Regions from separate parts of the Homo sapiens genome. Here regions 1 and 3 are each linked to region 2. Evidence: promoter capture Hi-C in human tissues and cell types (Jung and others, 2019). All regions are on one chromosome and are shown on one strand. Each heading gives the region's core, a stretch centred on a gene start or on the middle of the fragment in contact. The rest is flanking DNA. Distances are from core to core; before and after follow the strand shown. Region 1 overlaps TMEM184B (transmembrane protein 184B). Region 2 holds the start of GALR3 (galanin receptor 3). Region 3 holds the start of CDC42EP1 (CDC42 effector protein 1).

Evidence for each region. The method cuts DNA at HindIII sites, captures the fragments that hold promoters and counts their contacts. A contact is called where the count stands out against the background at its distance.
Region 1: a fragment that was not itself captured here is called in contact with the fragment with the promoter of GALR3 in region 2 in 2 of the 25 tissues and cell types used here (dorsolateral prefrontal cortex and stomach).
Region 3: the fragment with the promoter of CDC42EP1 here is called in contact with the fragment with the promoter of GALR3 in region 2 in 1 of the 25 tissues and cell types used here (lymphoblastoid cells).

The regions. Positions count from the first base shown.
Region 1 is chr22:38,263,443-38,266,142 of GRCh38, reverse strand. The region is part of intron 1 of TMEM184B (transmembrane protein 184B); the gene reads left to right. Among named protein-coding and RNA genes, the nearest start is that of TMEM184B, 8.2 kb to the left of the region's middle. RefSeq lists an enhancer at 1,757-2,257. The HindIII fragment of the contact is 7,395 bases long and covers 1-2,700 here.
Region 2 is chr22:37,822,102-37,824,801 of GRCh38, reverse strand. It overlaps GALR3 (galanin receptor 3), which reads right to left and starts at 1,420. Exons shown (of 2, transcript NM_003614.2): 1 at 1,037-1,420; 2 at 1-79. The coding sequence starts at 1,395. The HindIII fragment of the contact is 28,947 bases long and covers 1-2,700 here.
Region 3 is chr22:37,559,087-37,561,786 of GRCh38, reverse strand. CDC42EP1 (CDC42 effector protein 1) reads right to left here and starts at 1,307. Exons shown (of 3, transcript NM_152243.3): 1 at 1,199-1,307. RefSeq lists enhancers at 1-64, 65-671. The HindIII fragment of the contact is 19,033 bases long and covers 1-2,700 here.

The sequences.
Region 1 (2,700 bases), core at 194-2,693, 440 kb before region 2:
CCCAGATGGTCCCCCTCCCCAACAGAGGGGGTGCAGTGAGACCTCCGGAAGTTACTGCCTCTGTTACCCTCAAAGGGATTTTCAGATCAGACAGCCCCCCTACTCCAAGGGACGTGTGTGGAGCTTGGTACCTTTATTTATCTCCTGCTCCAACCCCTGTGGACTGCCTGCACCCAGAATGGGGCCTCTCCTGCTGGCAAGTGGCTGAGAACCTCCACTCCACTCAGCAGGGCTGTTCCCCATTTACCGAAAAGCTCCGAGAGAAAATAACTAACCCCATGGCGCCGCTGTAGCTACTGGCAGAGCCTCCTGGTCCCCACCTCTAGCGCCTGTGGTTTTTGTTTCATGCAGAGTGAGCAGTGAATCTGGGATCCCATCAGCAGTCAGTTTGGGTGCCTGCGAGGCACAATGATAGATGTTGGTGAAGGGTATGTGTGAGGATATTAATTAATATTAACATGCTAGTTATATTAATATTCTCATTGGAATTTGTGGGGCTTTGCAAGTTATATTTCAAATATATGGTTTTATGTAATCCTTTTAACTGCCCTGAAACCTTGAAATTATTGCACCTATTTTATAGATGGAGAGACTGAGGCTCAGAGGGGTGAATTGCCTAAGATCCTGGGGGAGGAAGCACCCAGGTTTTCTGGTTTTGAGTCCTGGGCCCTTCCTGCTGAGTAGCTACCCCCAACACAGACCTGCCCTTGGAGAGCTTGCAGCCACACTGGGAAGGCCAGTGTATTGGATTGCTGCTTAGACCTGGAAAGCACGTGAATAAAGCTTCAGGTTAAAACCATGGGGGTTCCAGGAGGCAGCAGTCGGCTCTGCCTGGGGGTGAGCTGAGGAGCCGGTGCTCTCTGGAACAAGGGTAGTTGGGCTGAGGCTCAGTGGACAGTGGAGGTTGGCAGGTGAAGTGCAGGAGGTCTTTGCAGGGAGTGGGACCACCTTGAGCACACACAGAGGAATGAGACAGGCAGGTTACTCAAGGAGCAGAGGTCTCGTGACCACTTCCCAGAGCATGTGGGGTCCTAGCCTCATCTCCAGGAGGAGAAAGTGCATCTATACACAGATTTGTCAATGGAGTTTAAATAGGATGTGGGAAAATCTAGATTTTCCAAAACAGTACATATTTGCTTTGAGAAGAAAGGTAGATGCAGGATGCATAGGTTAGATAATTTTAATAGCAGTAACCTCAGAGCATGTAAGTATGATTTGATTTACTGGAGTGCCTGGCCGTCTCAGTCAGTGGGAGCACGGCTTGGGCTGGGAGATGAGGTTGACAAGGGTTCTTTCTCTCAAATGCTTCCTTTGGTTTGCTAAGAGGTATCTCCTACTCGGCCGGGGGCAGAAGACTTTTCCTTCTTTTCCCAGTTTGCAGTAGTTGGGCCAGATTTGTGGAAGTGGGAGAAAGGCCTGCCCTGCTTCTACATAGAGTTGGCTGTCCTGACTTGATACTCGGTGTGCCTTCCAGAGACCCGCCTCCATCTCCTCAACTCCCTGGCTTGATGCTTAGGTGGTGATGGCTGTTGGGCACAGGAGTTACATAACAGATCTGTGATGGACCCAGGAGCAGAGCCAGCTGAGTGAATGTCATGGAGTGGGAGTGGTCTTGCATGGCTGTGGTGTCCCCTGCAGCTTGTGCAGGGTATGTGGCAAGAGGTGCTCACCACTCATCTGGAATGGCTAGACTGGAAGCACTTGGCCCTCTTGGGCTCTGCACCCCCACCCCCTCCCACCTGGCCTGCCTGCTCATCTTCATGGGCGCCTGGGGAGACCAATTATGGCTGCTTGTCATAGTGGCTCAGGTCACCGTTCACACTTCCTGGGACCAGGACATCAGAGCCCTGAGAAGGGTCAAGGGGCCAAGTGGGCCTAGCCTTTTACTGACAGCTGGGAAATGCAAGCGTGTGGACCAGAGCACCAAGTGAGTTGGGGCCGGTGTGGGTTCAGCACCGTGTCCCTACCCAGAGCTCCATTTGTTGAAAACAGCCTTTCTCTACCGTTTCTTCACTTGGACAACTTTAAACTATGTATTGGCTGGTCGCGGTGGCTCACGCCTGTAATCCCAGCACTTTGGGAGGCCGAGGTGGGCAGGTAACTTGAGGTCAGGAGGTCGAGACCAGCCTGGCCAACATGGTGAAACCTCATCTCTACTAAAAATACAAAAATTAGCCCAGCGTGGTGACACGCACCTGTAATCCCAGCTACTCGGGAGGCTGAGGCAGAAGAATCGCTTGAACTTGGGAGGCAAAGATTGCAGTGAGCTGAGATTGCATCACCGCACTTCAGCCTGGGAGACAGAGCGAGACTGCATCTCAAAAAACAAACAGAAACCTACATATTTTCTATATTTCCCCCAACATTGAGGCTCATTTCTTGGATGAACAATTTAAATGTACTGTGCCTCTCTGGCAATATTTTCCAAAATTACAGATGTTTCTATACTTTCACCGGCAGCTCTGCCTCCCAGAATTTATTCTACGGATGGGTTAACACGTGTGCAAAATGATTTATTTGCAAGGTTCGTCATTGTTGCCTTATTTTTAATAGCAAAAGATTGGAGGCAGCTTAAATGTTCATTCGCAGGGGCCAATGAACAAACCATGGCCCGTCTAAACATGGGATACCGCGTGGCCATAATACATAAGATGGACGCTCAACGCACTGTGCCGGATTGAGCAGCAAGGTGGATTGCCG
Region 2 (2,700 bases), core at 171-2,670:
CACCAGCCCCACTGCGGCGCGGGCGTTACGCGGCGTGCGCAGGGCGCGCGAGCGCAGCGGGTGCCGCACGGCCAGGTACCTGCGGAGGGCGCCTGGTCAGCGGGGCGGGCAGGTGCCCTCCCGCAGGGGCCCGCGCCACGTCCCGCGCCCGGGCCCTGCGGCCCAGTGCGCCTCCTGTGAACCGTGGGGGACGTGGCGGGGATTAAGGGTGTGAACGCGCAAGGTGCTTAGGCCCTTGCACCTAGCAAGGGCCCGATCCCGGTGACTTGTTATTTCTAGGATTATTTTATGGATGCGTCAGATGAGGTCCAGAGAGAAGTGACTTGCCCAGGGTCATCAGCTGGAGTGAGCCTGGATTTGACCCCAAGTTTCAAGCTGTGGAAGCAGATGTGTGCACAGCTTGGCCAGGTGTGGGCAGTTAGAAAATAGCTGGGCTGGGCGCGGTGGCTCACGCCTGTAATCCCAGCACTTGGGAGGCCGAGGCGGGCGGATCACTTGAGGTCAGGGGTTCGAGACCAGCCTGTCCAACATGGCAAAACCCCGTTTCTACTAAAAATACAAAAAATTAGCCAGGTGTGGTGGCCTGTAATCCCAGCTACTCAGGAGGCTGTGGCAGGAGAATCGCTGGAACCCAGGAGGCAGAGGTTGCAGTGAGCCAAGATCCAAAAAAAAAAAACAACAAAACAAAACAAAACAAAAAAACTGATGAACGCATTCGTGAGCTTCTTTTGCGATTCATTTCGCGCTTACAGAGCACTTACTATGTGCCAGACCCTGTGCTGCCACTTGAGACTCAGAGGCGTCCTCTGGAAGTTCACAGTGGAGGAGGGGAAGGGCAGGACAGTCCCCTCAAGCACGCCCTGCAGGTGCCCAGAGGCTGCTTGCGAGGGGTCAGGGAGCTTTTGTTTCCTCCCACCCACCTCCCTTTCTGGTCCCCCACTCTCTCCTTCCTAAGGCCAGTGAGGATCTGTTCAGGACTCCTCCCCCAACCCCCGCCCCCACAGCCCTGCCCAGCCAGGCCCCAGGCACAGCGCACCTGTCCACGGAGACAGCAGCCAGCGTAAAGCTGCTGGCGTACATGGTGAGGTAGATGAGCAGGTGCACGGCCTTGCAGACGAGGGCCCCAAAGAGCCAGGCATCCAGCGTGTAGATGGTGGCCTGGAAGGGCACGCAGCACAGGATGAAGCAGAGGTCAGCCACCGCCAGGTTGAGGATGAACAGGTCCGTGGTGCTGCCAGGCTCCTGCCAGGCACTCGGGCCAGGCTGCAGGAGCACTGCCAGCACCAGCCCATTGCCCACTGTGCCCAGCAGGAAGATTAGGGCAAAGACCACAGGCACTGCCACGGCCCCCACACTCCCTGGGCTGTCCAGTGAAATGTTCTGGGCATCAGCCATCTCCCCATCAGACGGGCACCTGGGAAGAGAAGCTGGAATCCTCAGGCAAGAGCCCCCAGTTCTGGTTGCTTGACCCCGGGATCTAACTCCCCCGACCTGGGTCTGGCCAGGTGTTCTGGGCTGGAAGCTCGTGGGAGATGGAGGAGGGGAGAGCAGAGCCAAAGTCATCGCTGAGTGTCACTGTGTGAGCAAGCTCGTGGTGTTCAAGGGGTGAGAGTTCCTCAGTTTCCTAAGGAACACCCCTGGAGTCCTGCCTGGAGGACTACCTAGGTATTTGAGGGACACTTTCAACCCACGAGGCTGGGGAAGGCACAAGCGAAGTAGGATGAAGATATGGCGATGGGGGGAGGGGCCAAACCCAGAAACTGGTATGTTTTCCTTCTCAATGGGGATCTGAAGCTCAGGGGAGACCCTGGGACATGGGTTTAGGGCTTTCTCTGGCTACAAGCTGTAGCCTTAGCAAAACACGGGTAACATCCCTGAGTCATTGGAGGGTCCAGTATAGTGAGATCATCACAATGGCAAAACTGGGAAGACCGTGTAGGTCACTGCTTCCTCTCTGCACATAGGGAAATTGAGGCCCAGAGAGGGGACATGGGAGGATAATATCACACTCGAAATGGCAGCTCTGGGGCTGTTGCCACCCTGGTATCCTGCCTCTTAAGCTAGAGTGCTCATCTGAGAGCTTGTAACAGGTGGTGCCTCTGACAACTTGTGTGTGTGCACACCGCACCCATGCTCACCCCCATCCCACTCTACAGCCCATGTCTCCTACTGCCTGTGGATCTCCTTGCAGGCTTGAGACCACTGGGGTGGTGGGACAAAGTAGGGGAAAGGGGGGTCAGGCAGGGAGTAGGGAAGAAAGGCAATGTCTGCCCCCATCCCAGCACCCAGCATGCAGTAGGTCCCCAAAGCCCAGGATGGGCAACACCCACCTCCGCCTTGGGCAGTGGGCTTGATCCTGGGTGGAATGGCCGGGCTGGGTGGGCCTCCTGATTCAGCGGCTGCCCCTTGGTGCCTCCCTGCAGGTACTGGTCTGCCTTCTACTTCTCCCCCTTTGCCTTTAAGGCCCCTCCTCTCCTCTGCCCCCTCTGCTGAGCCGGAGTTGGGCACTCCCTCTGGAGTAGCCACTGGCCACTTCCTCCTCAGTCCCTGATTTCCCCCAGGTGGCAGGCTCTTCTGCCTGGCTCTTCTCTGCCTCTCTGCGTTGCTGCTGCCTTTTCCTCTCTCTGCAGCCAGTAACCCATTGATCTCGCTCTCTGTGATTTGCTTTGTAGTTAACCCCTCTGTGCCCAGGGCCCAGCC
Region 3 (2,700 bases), core at 58-2,557, 260 kb after region 2:
CAGGGGCCCACGTCTCATCCTGGAGGCCACTGCTCGGGTGCACACAGCCCACTTCCTGCGGGCATCCAGCTGGGTGACGCCCCCCCCCACCGCTGGACAGCGGGTCCCTGTCATGGTTACGGCAGCTCCCCCAAACCTGCTCTGGTCCCTGGAATAAGGGGTTAAACCGGTCGGCTGACTTCTCCTGCTCCTCAAAGTCCAGACGCTTCAAGGTGGAGAGACGGGGAAACTGAGGCCAGAACGGGGTAGCTAGTTGTTCGCAGTCGCGCTAGGGGACCCGGTCCTCCGTATTCCAAGGGGGGCACCGTGGGCCATTAGGGAGCGACGGGGAAAGTGGAAAGGAGACGCGCTTCGTGCCCACCGCCCCGAGTTAGAGCCGAACCAGCCCGGGACCGAGCGAGACGGAGCGGCTGCGGGCCGCGTCTCGGGTCCCCGCGCCACGTTTAGTGCCGCTGCGGCCTCCCGGCCAGTCCCCCCTACTCTCTAAGCCTCAGTTTCCCGGTCTAGGAAAAGGGCTTCGAATGTTGCGGGTCTGGCACTGCTGGGGCAAAGGCAGAACAATCTGGAGGGCGGCCGGGATTGGAAGTCCGGGAAAGACTTCGGCCATCCAACATTCCCTGGGGGGACGGGGCTCAGGACGCGGAGGGTCGCTCCGCGGGGGAAGGGGACGACCGGCTGTCTTGGCCGGAGGGGAACCGGACGGGATGACCTCATCCGCGGCTCCAGCCTGGAATGCGGCGGTCGGGGAGGGGGGCAGGGTGCCTGTCCATCTCCCCGGGCCCCCCACCCCCCACTTCCCGCTCTCCGCGTGGGCCTCGGCGGAGGGGAGACATTCCGCCGCGTCGCCCGCTGCCCGCCCCGGCCCTTCCTTCCCCCGCGCAGGAAGGCGCGGAGACAGCCCCCGCTCTGCCCCTCGGCTCGCCCCCTCCTCGCGCATTTTGGCCGCTCAGCCGTGTCCGATCCTCTGCCCCCTCCACCAGCCTGGAACGGGACACGAAGCCCGAAAGCTCGGAGTTTCCTCGCGCGGCTCCGCGGCCGCGCCCGGCCTTCCTGTGGGCACCCGGGGGCGCCTCTCCCGGGCGGGTCCCGTCCCCGTTCCGGCCCCGGGAGCCTAGTAGGGTGCAGAGTCCCCGCGGGCGCCGGGACCCGCCGGCCTCCACGGCCTCCGCCCCGAGGACCCGCGCGCCCGGGCTGTTACCTGGCTCCGCGAGCCCCGGGGGCGCGGGACGAGGGCGGACTCGTCGTCTGCAGCGGCGGCGGCCGCGCGTCCCGGCTGGCAGCCCGGGAGAGTCGCTGGGCCGGTCTGCGCCGCCCTGGCCGCGGGCTCCGCGGGCTGGATCCGGGGGCGGGGGCGGGGTGTGGGCGCTCCCGCCTCCCGCCCGTCTCCTCCCGCCCGCGGGCGGGGCCCGGCCCCCTCCCCGGCCCCCTCCCCGGCACCGTCCTCGCGGCCGCCGAGAGCTGGCAGGGACGCGGCTGGGGGGCCAGGCCAGGCCTCTGCTCGCCACCCCGGACAAGGCCAGCCGGGGAACGTGCGGGCTGCCCCGGGGAGGCGACTCCGGTCCCCGGCCGCCAACCCCTCTTCCACCGGTTCCCCTCGTGGCCTTGCTTGGGGCGTCCAGGCCTGATGAACTCTCCTCCCTCCTGGGCCCTCCAGCCGCGCCCTGCGGGAGTTCGGGGAACCGGGAAGCTCGATCTGAGGCCTTGAATGCCTGGGCCTTTAAACCTTGATGTTTACAGGCATGACATGCCCACTCCTTTGCTCCCCATTCTCATTCCCTTCCATCCGGTACAGGCCCCGCGGTGCCCAGGAGGAAGACAGCCATACTGGGGCGACTGGTAGAGTGGGGTAGAGTGGCCGTCAAGACCGGGACCCTGGAGCCGGACAGCCTGGGCTCCTGTCCTGCCTCAGTCACTACTTACCTTTCTCTGCCTCAGTTTCCTGATCTGAAAGTGGGATAGATAATAGCAGCATCAGATGTTGTGTGAAGTGTTTCCTGCTCCAAGAGCACCTAGGAGGCTTGCTCGGCAGGTAAATGAAGTCGCATCTCAGAGACTTTACAGACCCTCCCCCCACCCCGCCCACCTCCATGGAGGGCAGGGAATCAGCCATACCCGGGACCCTGTGCCATCCTCAAGGAGGGGAGATAGATCTCTGGCCCCTGCCTCCCGTTGTTGTGCCCTCCTTTGACTACTCCCATCTGACTATAGAGTCCTCGGGCTGTCAGGGCACAGAGAGGTCCCTAATACTTCCTGCAGGGCCTGGGGGCTCAGGAAATCTTCCTAGAGGAGATGATACCTGAGTTAAGTCTCTCTCTCTCTCTTTTTTTTTTTTTTTTTTTTTTTTTTTTTTTTTTTTTTTTTTTTGAGACGGAGTCTCTCTCTGTTGCTCAGGCTGGAGTGCCATGGCATGATCTCAGCTCACTGCAGCTTCCACCTCCCGGGTTCAAGCGATTCTCCCTCCTAAGCCTCCGGACTAGCTGGGATTACAGGCACCCACCCACGCCCGGCTAATTTTTGTATTTTTTAGTAGAGAGGGGGCTTCACCATGTTGGCCAGGCTGGTCTTGAACTCCTTACCTCAGGTGATCCGCCTGCCTTGGCCTCCTCAAGTGCTAGGATTATGGGTGTGAGCCACTGCATGGTTGTGAGTTAAGTCTTAAAGGACGTGTAGGCAGAGGGAAGGGCAGTGGAAATGCACAGT